Linked DNA regions of Homo sapiens: regions 2, 3, 4 and 5 are each linked to region 1. Evidence: promoter capture Hi-C in human tissues and cell types (Jung and others, 2019). All regions are on one chromosome and are shown on one strand. The core of a region is centred on a gene start or on the middle of the fragment in contact, and the rest is flanking DNA. Distances in the headings are between cores, read along the strand shown.

The links. The method cuts DNA at HindIII sites, captures the fragments that hold promoters and counts their contacts. A contact is called where the count stands out against the background at its distance.
Region 2: a fragment that was not itself captured here is called in contact with the fragment with the promoter of SEZ6L in region 1 in 2 of the 25 tissues and cell types used here (H1 embryonic stem cells and mesendoderm cells).
Region 3: a contact is called between a fragment that was not itself captured here and the fragment with the promoter of SEZ6L in region 1, in 2 of the 25 tissues and cell types used here (dorsolateral prefrontal cortex and mesendoderm cells).
Region 4: a fragment that was not itself captured here is called in contact with the fragment with the promoter of SEZ6L in region 1 in 2 of the 25 tissues and cell types used here (H1 embryonic stem cells and lymphoblastoid cells).
Region 5: a contact is called between a fragment that was not itself captured here and the fragment with the promoter of SEZ6L in region 1, in 2 of the 25 tissues and cell types used here (H1 embryonic stem cells and mesendoderm cells).

Annotation. Positions count from the first base shown.
Region 1 is chr22:26,168,155-26,170,792 of GRCh38, reverse strand. SEZ6L (seizure related 6 homolog like) reads right to left here and starts at 1,331. Exons shown (of 17, transcript NM_021115.5): 1 at 1,030-1,331. The coding sequence starts at 1,123. It overlaps LOC105372971 (a long non-coding RNA gene), which reads left to right and starts at 1,559. Exons shown (of 6, transcript NR_188586.1): 1 at 1,559-1,790. RefSeq lists an enhancer at 1-352 and a silencer at 1,179-1,308. The HindIII fragment of the contact is 7,592 bases long and covers 1-2,638 here.
Region 2 is chr22:25,767,694-25,770,331 of GRCh38, reverse strand. MYO18B (myosin XVIIIB) reads right to left here. Exons shown (of 44, transcript NM_032608.7): 4 at 904-2,217; 5 at 156-222. Among named protein-coding and RNA genes, the nearest start is that of MYO18B, 27 kb to the right of the region's middle. The HindIII fragment of the contact is 4,498 bases long and covers 1-2,638 here.
Region 3 is chr22:25,858,584-25,861,221 of GRCh38, reverse strand. All of the region lies in intron 21 of MYO18B (myosin XVIIIB), which reads right to left. Among named protein-coding and RNA genes, the nearest start is that of MYO18B-AS1, 40 kb to the left of the region's middle. The HindIII fragment of the contact is 7,727 bases long and covers 1-2,638 here.
Region 4 is chr22:25,886,867-25,889,504 of GRCh38, reverse strand. All of the region lies in intron 25 of MYO18B (myosin XVIIIB), which reads right to left. The region is part of intron 2 of MYO18B-AS1 (MYO18B antisense RNA 1); the gene reads left to right. Among named protein-coding and RNA genes, the nearest start is that of MYO18B-AS1, 12 kb to the left of the region's middle. The HindIII fragment of the contact is 5,114 bases long and covers 1-2,638 here.
Region 5 is chr22:25,905,943-25,908,580 of GRCh38, reverse strand. It overlaps MYO18B (myosin XVIIIB), which reads right to left. Exons shown (of 44, transcript NM_032608.7): 32 at 149-259. Among named protein-coding and RNA genes, the nearest start is that of MYO18B-AS1, 7.3 kb to the right of the region's middle. The HindIII fragment of the contact is 3,771 bases long and covers 1-2,638 here.

The sequences.
Region 1 (2,638 bases), core at 82-2,581:
GCGCATTTCTGGGACCTTGCAAGAAGGCCGGGTCCTGTGGCCAACTAACCCTCCCATTGATTTTCGGGTCTCCTAGGTGCCTGAGAAAACCCCCGAAGCTCTGAGGGTTAGCTTTGGGTGAGTTAGGCGTTGCACCCCTCTCTCTATCTGGCCCTCTCCCCCACCCATAACTTTTCCTGGGGTACCTTACCGGGGTGGAGAGAGGGTATGGTTCCAGGTCTGAGAAAGAGGAGCTGTCATTCTCTGCTAAATTTGGGCCCCTCTTCCCCTTCAACAAACACGTGGTAGATGAAACTAACACCCCTCACCCCCCATTCCTAACAGTGATCAGAGATGCTAGGCAGTAGGGGAGAGAGTAGAGGGGAGCCCGTTCAGGTTCCCAACTGCTAACTAACATCTCTTCTCCCTCCCCTACCAAGTTCTCAGAGCCCTCAGCCCCCTCCACCGGCCTCTAGCGAAAGCCACACCCAAGTCCGGTATCCTGACGCTTGGCTGAGATCGATCCAGGAACACAGACCCTCGGGGTAGCCTGAACCAAAGGAGTCAAGGGTTTCTGTGGTGTCGGGGGGAGCGGCAAATGCACTGTTTGAGTCTAGTCCTCAGTTGCAGGGTGGGTCAGCTTCTCACCCCCCTTCCTGTCCTCTCCCGGAGAGGAAGATAATTATCTGGCACCTAGCCCCGGGTGCGGTTGCAGAGAAGCGCCGGGAATTTGGGGTTTGGAGGCGACCCCACTCCAAGGAGAACCTCTTTGGCTGCAAAGGAGAATCAGCCCCGCAGCCGGGGAAGACCGAAAGGGAGCCCGCAGCCGAAGCAGGGAAGCGCCCGAGTCCTTCAACACATCCCCGCCTCCACACTCCCATCAGCCCGGGCCAAGGGGACGTGCGGTTCCTAGCCCCGATTTTGGACAGCCACCACCGCTTCCCATCCCGGCGGGTGGTGCCTGAGTCGCCCTGGTCAGCCCCGACCCCTGGCTGCCCCGCTCTCCCGGCAACTTTGCCCCCTGCCCGCCCCGCCCCTCGGGGCGCTTACCTCGCTCCAGCGCTGCCGCCGGGCTCCCCAGGAGCAGAGCGAGGAACAGCGAGATCCCGCGGAGTCCCGCGGCGGGCGGCCGGGCCGCGGGCATCGTGGCTGCAGGGGGCGCGGAGCCGCTGGCTGTGGGGCGGGCGGACGGCGAGGGAGCTGGGGAAGGAGGGCGGCGGTGAGCGAGAAAGGGGAAGCGGGAGCGAGGGAGGAGGCCGCGGGCCGGGGCAGCTTCCGGAGCCCCCTGGGCGGACGCGCGCTCAGCCCCGCGGTCGCTCTGGCCGAGCTGCGCCGGGCGCGGGCGGGCGAGTGAGGAGGAGCCGGCGAGCGAGCGAACGAGCGTGGAGCGAGCGGGAGGAGGGAGGGGGCTGGGGCCGAGTCTGTGCCGAGCGAGTGCAGGGAGGGAGGGGGCGGGCGAGCGGGCAGTGAGCTGGAGGGGCCGCGGCGGCGCCGGGGGTGCCAGCCGCCTCCTCTGGCCGCCGGCCCGTCGGCCCTGCAAAGTTTAACGCCAATTCCCCTTGCGTCCTGGGAGCCGAGCGTTTTCTCTCCCTGCTGACGCTCCCAGCAGCTCTGCCTGGCCAGGCCAGGCTGGAGAGCACCCGGACCATTTTCCAGACGGTGAGATGGAGCCCTGGAAACCGAGCTTATGAGCAGCCCGGAGCTTTCCATTGCCTGCCCAGCCTTCCAGATACATCCCAGTTCCAGTTCTTTCCAGAGCCCTCTGGGATCCAGCCAGCCTGCTTCCCCGCCAGGGCCTCACTGCTTCCAAAGTGAGTCCCCATAACCTAGAAAGTCTGTAACTCTGTGGATCTGGTGACAGCTGTGAATCTACTAGAACACTACACATAGCCACAAAATCGTGCATCTAACACGAGGGGGTCTGGACCCCTCTGAAGCCCAATCACGAACTCTAAATTAAGATCCACCTCCACTTTTTAATCTGAGCCCTGTCTCCCATAACCCCACTGCCGGCAGGGCACTAGCGCTGCGAGGCTTCCTCTCAGGTCAGCCGCTTGCCTCTTCCTGTACCCGCTTCCCTATCTGAGCAGGACTACAAGGCCCACCTCTGCAGCATTCTTGCCCAGGCCTGATTCTCAAGCAAAGTCTTTTCTCCACAAATAGAGGTAGTGAGGGACAATCAATGAGGGAGATAAACAGATACTTGGGGACAGACATTGGCAGAGAGCTAGGTGGGGACAAGCTTATGCACAGTCCTGGAGACTGACTGTCTCTCCCTGCGTAGCCTTGGCAGACCGGTCAGGCTTTACAGGCCTCTCACCCAATTTAGAAGCTGTCCTCCTCCCCCTACCCTACCTTGCCATACTATCTACACACTGCAGCCTGAACAGGCAGAGGGAGCAGATGGAGAGAAGGTTGCAGGCAGCAACAGGGGGAGGAATATGTCTTTAGCAGCGTGGTGGAGCCGGGAGTCCCTAGAAAGAATGGGTGGGGGAGGTGAACACTGGATGGAGGAGGGAAGGAGAAGCACTCTGGCCCAGGGTTTCAGAAGACGCTCCACACCCAGAGCTTCCCCATTTACTCACTCAAACAATGCTCTTTTACAGGCCACTGACTATAGGCCCAGACCTGCCTCAGGCTTTGGGGGACAGAGAGCCCC
Region 2 (2,638 bases), core at 92-2,591, 400 kb after region 1:
TATCAAGACACAAATGCCTTTGAAAGACAGTCTCCACTGCTCCTCTTCCCTCCTGACCACCAAAGTATAATCAGGACCTGGAACATATGGCTGGCAGCAGTAGGGGGCACAGGAGAAGACTCAGACCCTCCAAAGGTGCTAACACCCCTACTTACCAAGAGTAAATCCATCCTTCTGAGCCAGCCAGACTTTCTCTGCCTCATACCATCTGTCCTCAGGAGCCTGAGAACCAACATCACGTAAATTAAACCAGCAAATGGCACCGCTGCCCATCTTCTACCTTACACGGGGGTTTCTCACAGTGTGCTCTGGAGCCATCTAAACCAGAATCTCCTGGGGGAGAACAGGAGAGGGAGTGTGCTTATTTAAATGCAGATTCCCGTTGCGGACCCGGGAGGTGGAGCCGAGATCACACCACTGCACCATCTAGCCTGGGTGACAGAGCAAGACTCCGTCTCAAAAAAAAAAAAAATACTACATAAATGCAGATTCCTGGGCCCCACTCCTGGCCTTTGAAATGAGAGACTCCATGGCTGGCCCCAGGAATCTGCATTTTTAACAATCTACTCGTTATGCCATCCCGTTTGAAAGCTGTCGTGTGACATCATAAGCAAGCTCTACCATGTCAGCCGTGAGGAGACACCTCACACTTTGGGGACCTTCCCTCACTCTGTGGGGAATTCCCACCCCAGGGCAGGTGCAATGGAAACTTCAAGACTTCTGCTCATGGAGGAAGTGCTCGTCCCCTCCTCTGGGTGCCTTGCAGTTCCAGCCACCCCTCTCCAATTCCCTGCCCACCCCCCGTCCACCCCTTGTCCATCCCTGGGGCAGATCTTTCCCATCCCTGCATCTCTGGAGAGGCCTGTCTGCCGCTTCCCGCTCCCAGGGCCGCAGCCCCCTCACCTGGTCTGAGTCTCTGCTCTGGCCTCCTTTGCCCTCCTCCTGCGGGGCTGGCCCGTCTTGGTTCTCCTTCCGTATCCGAGGCCTTTCTGCATCCTTCTCCAGAGCAGGCTGGCTGGGTCCTTCCAGCTCTGTCTCCAGGGCACCAGCCCCATCACCTGCTCTTGAGCAGGGCTCCTCTGCTTCCTGCCCACGGCTTCCTGGCCAGCCTCCCTTCCCAGGAGCTGCTGGCGACTCCACCATTGTGCTCACCTCCTTTGGGGCTTCACAGCCCTTCTCTGTCTGACTCCGAGCTTCACCTGCGTTCCCGGACTTACCCTGGGGTTGCCCCATCTTTTCCTTCTTATCCCAGGACTCACCTGCCTTCCCAGTCGTGCTCCGAAGCTCACCTGCTTTCTCCCCCATTCTCAGATCGTCCCCCAACTCGCCCTGCACTTGGCTTGTCTTCTCCATCTGGGTCTGAGGCTCACCTGTCTTCTCTGCCTTACTTAAGAGCACCCCTTCTTTGTCCTTCTTATTCTGGGGACCGTCCCACTTACTCCTTCTTCCCAGGAAACCTCCCCACTTTCTCCCAGGGATTTGGGGCCTTACGTGCTTCCCTTCACTCCCTACGTCCTTAGAGACATTCCCCTTTTCCACCGTGTTTGTGGGCTCTGCTCCCTCCTTCTCTGCTTTCCCTGGTCGCACCCCCTCGCCGGGCCCTTGGGCTTGGGGCCTGGTCCCCTGCCTGTCTTTGCCCTGGGGCTCAGCCTCTTTCAGCTCTGTGGTCTTGGGGGTCCCAAGCCCCTTCCCCACTATGCTTTGACCCTCCTCGCCTTTTTTCAGTGCCACAGTTCCTTGGCCTGGGTCCCCAAGACCCCCAGTCCGGGTCTTCTCAGCTTTCGGGGCCAAGATCTCGGTGCTGGCCTGGGAGCCACAAGGAGTCCTAGAGGTCTCCCCTTTCTTTTCCTTTCCAGTATCTGTGGCGGGGGGAGAGGTCTTGCAAGGGGGGGCGTCATGGGGATGAGTCTTCTCTGGCTTGGCTGAGTCCGGGTCCAGCTTGGCCACCATCAACAACACATCACCCCTCCTCACGCCCCTCTTGAAGGGGACAGTCTTTTTGGTTGGTGTCGCACTGGAGCCCAGCTCCTGGGCCTTCTCACCATTGATGCTTGTCATCTGCTCAGGGTCGGGGCTGCGGGACCCCTCGCTCTCCTTGCCCAGAATGTCTGAGCTCCCAGGAGAGCTTGACTGGTCGTCCTGAGAGATCTGCTGGCTTCCAGATCTGGTGCCACTGCTGGACTTGCTGTTGGGTTGGCTGATGGAAATTTCTGGGATCTGGGAGAAAGAACACAACCATGCCTACATAGCTGCTTGCTGACCTGACAGCTTTGTCATTCACTCGTGTTCGTTCATTCATTTCATTGTTCACTTCTCCATTCATCCTTCCACAGATGCTCGAGCACCTCCAAATCCAACAGGCATGGCCAAGCCTAGCACCCTTGACCTTGGCCTAGCCCCTCAAAGTTGAGTGATGGAGTGGAAGGAGTGGACTTTGGAGCCCAACAGAACCAAGTTCAACTCCTGACTCTGACACTCTATAGCTGTGTGACCTTAGCTAAATGACTTCTCCTCTCTGAGTCTGTTTTTTAATCAATAAAATGAGAATGATAAAAGCCTACCTTGCAGGGTAGGTGTGAGAATGTGTGACAATATGTAGAAACTGAGCCCAGCGCATAGTGTGTCCTCAACAACAGTA
Region 3 (2,638 bases), core at 47-2,546, 310 kb after region 1:
ATAATTTACAGAACAATTAAACATAAACGATAGCAACATGCCAGGCACAGTGGCTCACGCCTGTTATCCCAGGACTTTGGGACACTGAGGCCAGAGGATTGCTGGAGCCCAGGAGGTCGAGACCAGACTAGGCAACACAGTAAGACCCTATCTCTAAAAAACAAAATCAGCCAGGTGTGGTGGCATATGCCTGTAGTCTGAGCAACGCAGGGGGCTGAAATAGGAGGATCGCTTGAGCCCAGGAAGTCAAGGCTGCAGTGAGCCATAATCGTGCCACTGCACTCCAGCCAGGGCAACAGAGCAAGAGCCTGCCCTGTCTCAAAAAAAAAAAAAATAGCAATGATATATAAGACTTGAACAATACTATCAACCAAATTGCCCCAACTAACATCTATAGACTACTCAACAACCACAGAATACATGTTTTTTATAAGCACACTTTGAACACTCTCCTAGATATATAATATTAGGCCACAAAATAAGTCTCAATAAAACAAACAAAAATAAATTTAAAAGTACTGAAATCATATAACATATGTTCTCAAACTAAAATGGAATTAAATTAGAAACCAACAAGAAAAAAGGTGAGAAAGTTCCAAATATGTAGAAATTAATACACTTCTTAATAAACAACGGGCCAAAGAAGAAATCACACTAGGAATTAGAAAATATCTTGAACTAAATGAAAATTTTTGTGTGATGCAGCCAAAGTAGTACTTTGAGGAAAATGTATGCTTTAACCATGTATATTGGAAGAGGAGAAGGATTTTGAACCAATAATTTGAGCAAGATTCCTTTTTAAGAAACCAGGAAAAGTAGAGAAAACTCAAATCAAGTGAAAGGAAGGAAGTAACATAGAGTGGAAATCAATAGAAGACAATAGAACCAAAGAAAACAGAAAAACAACAGAGAAAAAAAATCAGTGAAATCAAAAGTTTGTCCTTTGAAAAGACAAAACTGATGAAGTTTATTTACACTGACCAAGGAATAAAGAGGCAGAAAGAAAGAGATGCTACTAATTAGTACAGTCAGACCAATAGAATGAATTTAGATTACGAAAATAAACTCTTTATTTATGGCCAATAAATGTTTGACAAAGGTTCCAACACAATTCGCTGGGAGAAATGATAATAGTCTTTCCAACAAATGGTACTGGGACAATTGAATATCCATATGCAGAAAGATGAATATAGGCATGTATGTTACACCATACACAAAATTAACACACAATAGATCAAATGTCTACACGGAGGAGCTAAAACTACAAATCTTGTAGCGGAAAATGGGAGAATATCTCTGTAACCGAGGGGTAGGTAAAGCGTTCTTAGATATGAAAAAAGCACCAGTCACTTAAAAAATTAGTAAACTGAACTTCATAAAAATCTCTGTGCATCATTATGAAAATGAAAAGACAAGCCACAGGCTGGAAGAAAATATTTTCAAAGATACATCTGATAAATAATTATGTCTAGAACAAATAAAGAACTAGTACAACTCTATAAGATAAACAGCCTAATTAAAATGGGCAAAAAAAATAGAGTTTCACAAAAAAAGAGATAAAATGGCTACTAGGCACATGCAAAAAAAAAAGTCAACATCATTAGGGAAAATGCAAATTAAAACCACAATGAGATGCCGCTTTGCACACAACAGAATGGCTTGAATCAAAAAGGCAAACAATTCCAAGTATTGATAAGGATAGAAAATGAAACCCTCACACATTGCCAGTGAGGATGAACAATGGTAGAGCCACTTTGAAAAATAACTTGACAGTTTCTTTAAAAGTTATATTTAAAAGTTACACATAAATTTACCATATAAACTAGCAATTCTCCTCCAAGAATGCACCCAAAAAAAGTAGAAACATGTTTCTGTGCAAAGACTGATATGCAAATGTTCACAACATCCTTTTTCATAATAGTCAGAAAATCAAAAACTATCCAAATGTAGTTTAGAGATGATCAGTTGATTAAATATCTACTACTATTAATCAAAAAATATTTTATCTTAACAATTATTTGAGGTTTTTAAGGCAAATATTAAAGCCTTCATTGTATAGAAGGGGCATTAAAATCCATAGAAATAGTAAAATTACTATTTTTACAACAAAATCATAATTGATTACATTTATTATTTACTCTGTGTATATGAAAGTCACCATGTCAATACGTTAAATTGCTCAATCCTCCTATCAACAGTATTAGAAACTATTAGTATGCCATTTTAAGATAATAAAACTAAGTCAAAGAAAGGCTGAGTGACTTGTCAAATGTCACACAGCCAGTGAGCAGATTAGACACAGTATGTGCTCAGAAAGCCTGACTCCAGAATCTGTATCCTTAACCTGTTAAGCTATCCCACTTCGAATTCACAACTAGTAAGATTCATTCAGTGAAGCATCCCAGGCATTGAGCATAGATGGGTCATCGTCTTCACTGTAAGTCAACATTACACCTCAGCAAACATGGCTCTTGGCAAACCTGAGATCTCTCCACCTTAAGTAGGAAAATTCCGATAGCCTGTGTCAAATTGAGCCCAGATTTTGGGGTCTAACTGATTTCAGTCACATCCAACCCACAGCCCCCACTTACAGAGTTCCATTGTTTCCTAGAATTTTGCAAAGAGCTTTCTCTCCAAT
Region 4 (2,638 bases), core at 104-2,603, 280 kb after region 1:
GACATTCCCTCCTGCTCTGGAGCCTTGGTCACCTGAGCTGTAAAATGCATTGAATTGGGTGCGGTCACATGTCCTCCTGCTGTAAATTTTGCATGTGAAGATGTTAGAATGCCTCACTCTTTCATCGGACCCTCTGCATCATGACTGATATTTAGAGGCGACTCTGCATTATCTTTACTGAGAAGGTAAATGGTTCTTACAATGAGCAACGTAGCTGCCCTTCCCGAGCTAGCCTCTCTCGGTACTGTCAGCTTAGGCAGGCTCAAAATTTATTCAGCTGTCCCATGAAGAAGGAAGACGCAGATCTATGTTCTGACATAAAAAAAATATATCCCCAAGATATATTGCCAAAGGGGAAAAAAAGGCAAATTTCCAGAATAGAATGTTTGGTGTAATCCCATTTTTGTTTGCACAGAACAAAGCACTCCCAAACTGTTAATTGAGATTTTTTTTTTTTTCCTGGAAGGATGGGCTCACAGGGAACTCCAATTTTCTTGTGATGCATTTCTGTACTGTTGATTTTTTAACTGATTTTGTAATCAGAAAACAAAACATCTTTCAAAAAGAGTGAACAAAATCTGAGGCTGCTCTGTGCATTCCATGCTCCCCATCTGTTTCACTTCTCCAGCCCATCTGCCTCCCACCCTGTTGACCGCATCACCGACTGCTGAGACCAAAATGCACATTTCAATAGACGCAGAGGAGAAAGAAGGCTTGGGGGAAGCACTGCAAAGTCACATCACATGTAAAAGGCAGAACTGAGATTTGAACTCAGACCAGTCAGGTCCAAGTCAGGACCTCCAGTTAATTAATGAGGGACTCTCCTAGGGTGTTCCTGGTTGTCTCCAGCATGGGAGCTTTCTCTTGCTGTTCCTTACACCGTGCACCAGGGAAGTACTTATGTGGCAATGACCTCAGATGGTTGTTAAAATGCAAATTCTAGGGCAGAGCATGATAGCTCATGTTTGTAATCCCAGTGCTTTGACAGGCTGAGGTAGGAGGATCACTTGAGGCCAGGAGTTCAAGACCAGCCTGGGCAACATAGCAAGACCCTGGCTTTAAAAAGTTTTTAAAAATAAACCAGCCGAGATGGTGTGTGCCTATAGTCCCAGCTGCTCTGGAAGCTGAGGCAGGAGGATCACTTGATCCCAGGGGTTTAGGCTGCAGCAGCTATGATCACACCACTGCACTCCAGCCTGAGTGACAGAGTGAGACCCTGACTCTTAAAAAAATAAAAGAAAATGCAAATTATAGGACTCTCAGACCCCCAAACCAGGATCTCTAAAGCATAATTCAGGAATCTACATTTCAACCTGCTCCAGGGTGATTTTTATGAACAAAAAAATTTAGGAATTACTGCCATAGAAACTGCCAGGGTCTCCTCCTAATTTTGGCCTCACACTTGGATTTGAAGGGGTTAGATTTGCTTAAGGCTGTGCAAAATCATTCTTGCTGCAAGAGTGCTGATTTGCACTGGCCACACAATACAGGGAGGTGCAAGCCAGGAATGCCCCAGGTCACACCCCAAACACCATCCTTGAAATTAGCATTAATTCCAAGCACCAGGACTGTGTTCTCTCCACCTTAGCCAATTAGTGTGAAATTTAATTTATGCTAACCGGCCTGAGCAAGGGGACCACACAATTAATTTGATGCATTAATTTTGAGTTTCACAGAACCCAAAGTCTGGAGCCCAAAGGACAATTAGTCTTTTCAAATTGGGGGAAATGACACATGTTTTTCTCAGAGACAAGGTGCCCCTGACCTTCCCCTGTCCCCATAAATCCCTATCCCTTCCCACACCATGGGGCACAGGGGCTTTGGATGGAGGTGAGGAGCAGGCACCATGCTCAGAGCTGTCAGGCGATTGCAAATTGAAAACCAATTTAATGAAGGGGGGAGTCTGGTTTGCAAACCCAGAAGAGTCCTTGCAGATTACTCAAGAACCAATTAACCAGAAATTATCTTGAAAACCTCTCCGGATCTACCACTTGGCCAAACCAACAGAAATATTCTTTCTATTGAGGGACAATTACTCCAAGGGCCTGCCAGAGAGAAGGGGACAGGAATTAATAAATTTGTTGTATATTTTGTATGGAGTGGAACAGAAAAAAAAATATCCTGTGCACTGGCCTCATTTGCAGCTTGGGCGAGCAGTGAGTAACTGGGATTTCACGGATGTTAAATGCTGGAGGACACACCTGGGGTCCTTGGGACCGTCACTGTTGCTTGTTCTTCACGGATCCAACAAGCACTATGTGAGCACTTACTGTGTGCCAGGTCCTGTTCTGAAGGACCCCACTGGCCAGTCAGAGAGACAAACAAACCACAGGGGCACACACGGGTCTTGGCTTGATCCTGTCCTCAGCTCTTATATTCATAGACTGTCAAGCCCAAAAACCATCTGACCTGCAGACAGCAGGAAACAGCAACTTTTTGCTCTCCTCCCATACTTTGCAATTTGCACAGAAAGATCTGTTCATTATAACCCCTTGGGTGAGAAACAGCTCACACTCTTGAAATGCTGAGGATAGGTATGCCCTAAGCATTTGGCATATGTCATTTGCCTTAAGCCCTTCAAATACCTTATGAGAAGGGCATTTTTGTTATTCCCCTTTTACAGAACAGGAAACTGGGG
Region 5 (2,638 bases), core at 72-2,571, 260 kb after region 1:
GTCACTTCGAAGCTAAGGTCTCAGATGATTGCAGAAAGAGCTTGTCCCCAGATCCCAGACCCTGTCCTACTCCTCGCTCTAAGGAAGAGGGAATCCATGCCAGACCTGCCAGGATCCAAGGGCACAGCTGTGTTCACTGCTCACGTACCCGCTTCTGGCAGGACTGACGGACATCCTCCAGTTCCTCCTCCTGGTCCTCACGGTCCTTCTGGTGCATCTGCTTCATCCGCTCGATCTCCAGCTCAAACCGCTGGCGGAGCTGCGGGGGCAGCAAGGACAGCACGTGAGGGTGACCCACTCTAACTCTCCAAGCCCTCCATGTCATCCTTGGCATTCCAATTGCATTTCTCATTTTTGGAATACATAAATGAGAGTCAAGTTATTGCCCTAGGCATCCTGGAAGATCACAAATGGTGGGTAAATAGATTAAATATTGCCTCTATCCATTCTTGTGCTTATAACAGACATCACTCATCAATCACACTTTCCCACTGAGTTTAGAAGCAGCCTCAGAATCCTTCTCAACACTCTTTTTTTTTTTTTTTTTGAGATGGAGTTTCCCTCTTGTTGCCTAGGCTGGAGTGCCACGGCGCAATCTCGGCTCACCACAACCTCCACCTCCTGGCTTTAAGCGATTCTCCTGCTCAGCCTCCCAAGTAGCTGGGATTACAGGCATGTGCCACCACACCTGGCTAATTTTTGTATTTTAGTAGAAACGGAGTTTCTCCATGTTGATCAAGATGATCTCAAACTCCTGACCTCAGGTGATCCACCCGCCTCAGCCTCCCAAAGTGCTGGGATTATAGGTGTGAGCCACCGGGCCCGGCCCCCTTCTCAACACTCTTAAGATGAAACATATTTCTCATTCCTGGAGCAGGCAACAGCGATGGTTTTCTGGGTGAGTGGATAGGTAGATGAATGGTAGGACAAAAGTGTATGAAGACATGAAAGCCTGGAAAAGAAGATGATTTGCCCAAAATGTTATCTGAGACAATTCACTTTACCTCTAGGTCAGTCCCCTTTCTCTGTAGAAAACAACCGTCTTAGAATGCTACTATGAGAATTAAATGATGATATAAAGCACCTAGCACAGTATCTGATACATAAATATTACTTTCTCTTTCCCCATTATTTCGAAAACAGAAAAGACTATCCCCTCCCTCCCTGGCAACCTGACATAATTAAGAGCTGTGATCCCATGAATGAGCTGGGTCTTTCAAACAAGAACCTCCAAAACACATGCAACAGGCATAGAGCCGTGCATAATGTTGGAACTGTGTGAAGTCGTATAAAGGGTTCTAGAGTGGAAGGCAAAAAAGTCATGAGTTCTAGGTCTAGTTCAAGACTTCACTTTCCTGATCTGCATGATTTACAGATTGGCCCAAGCCCTGGCTTCTCAAATTTTGTGGCACGTTAGAATTACAAACGCATTTTTAAAACATACAAATTGCAGGGCTTCACCCTAGACCTACTGGATTAGAATCCCCAGGGTACAGGGCCCAAGAAAGCTTTGAAGCTTTCCTTTATCTGTCTATACTCTTTAATGTTACTGGATCATGAAAAAGCATTTGGAACTCAATAGCGTAGATGGGTGATATGGTTAGGCTCTGTGTCCCCACCCAAATCTCATTTTGAATTTTAATTCCCATAATTCCCACAGGTCAAGGGAAGGACCTGGTGGGAGGTGATTGGATCACAGGGGGTGGTTTCCCTTGTGCTTTTCTCATGATAGTGAATGAGTTTTCTTAAGATATGATGGTTTTATACGTGACTGCTCCTGCTTCACACACTCTCTCTTGCCAGCCACCATGTAAGACTTGCCTGCTTCCCCTTCCACCGTGACTGTAAGTTTCCTGAGGCCTCCCCAGCCATGTGGAACTGTGAGTCAATTAAACCTCTTTTTTGCATAAATTACCCAGTCTCAGGCAGTTCTTCACAGCAGTGTGAAAACAGACTAATACAATGGGTTACATTGTAGAAATGATAACTTTCTGATCATTTACTCTACTGTCCCAGCACCTCTCATCAAGCTTTTGGAACTTAACAAGTGCTGTCCCCAACATGGACAGAAAAAAACAATCTGGGTCTTTTAAAATGTTGATAATATTCCCTGCTATGCCGTGGTGAGGAGCAAAAGGATAGTGTACGTCAGAGGCCCTGTTACAGTTTCTGGCATAAAGTAGGCTCACTTTAAATGTCAACTTCTTGCCTTTTTTTCCTTTAAAATGACAGGGGTTGTGGGAAGATAATCCAAAACCAAGGAGCCTGAGCAAGTAACTATAATATTTCTTTTTCATTTTTTCTAGCCTCTTGGACATTCTTGACATCTGCAATACCATTTATGTCAAACTTATACGAGTTAACATAAAATTCCCTGGAAAAAGTGTTGTATTATAATCAATAAATATCCACTGGATGTCTACAAGGGCACAATGCAGCCTGAGGTTATGGGTGAAGCTGAAGACGGATGAAAGTGTTGAGTCAGCCTCATCTCCTGGGTGAACTGAGCATGGAAATTCAGGCAGCTGCATTAAGTTTTGGGTCCCTGAGGCCATGGTAATACATTTTTGCTTCCGAGCACTAAGTGGTCCCCCAGTGGTATCTTAAAGAGTTAACACAGTTTTCAAGAGGGCTTGTT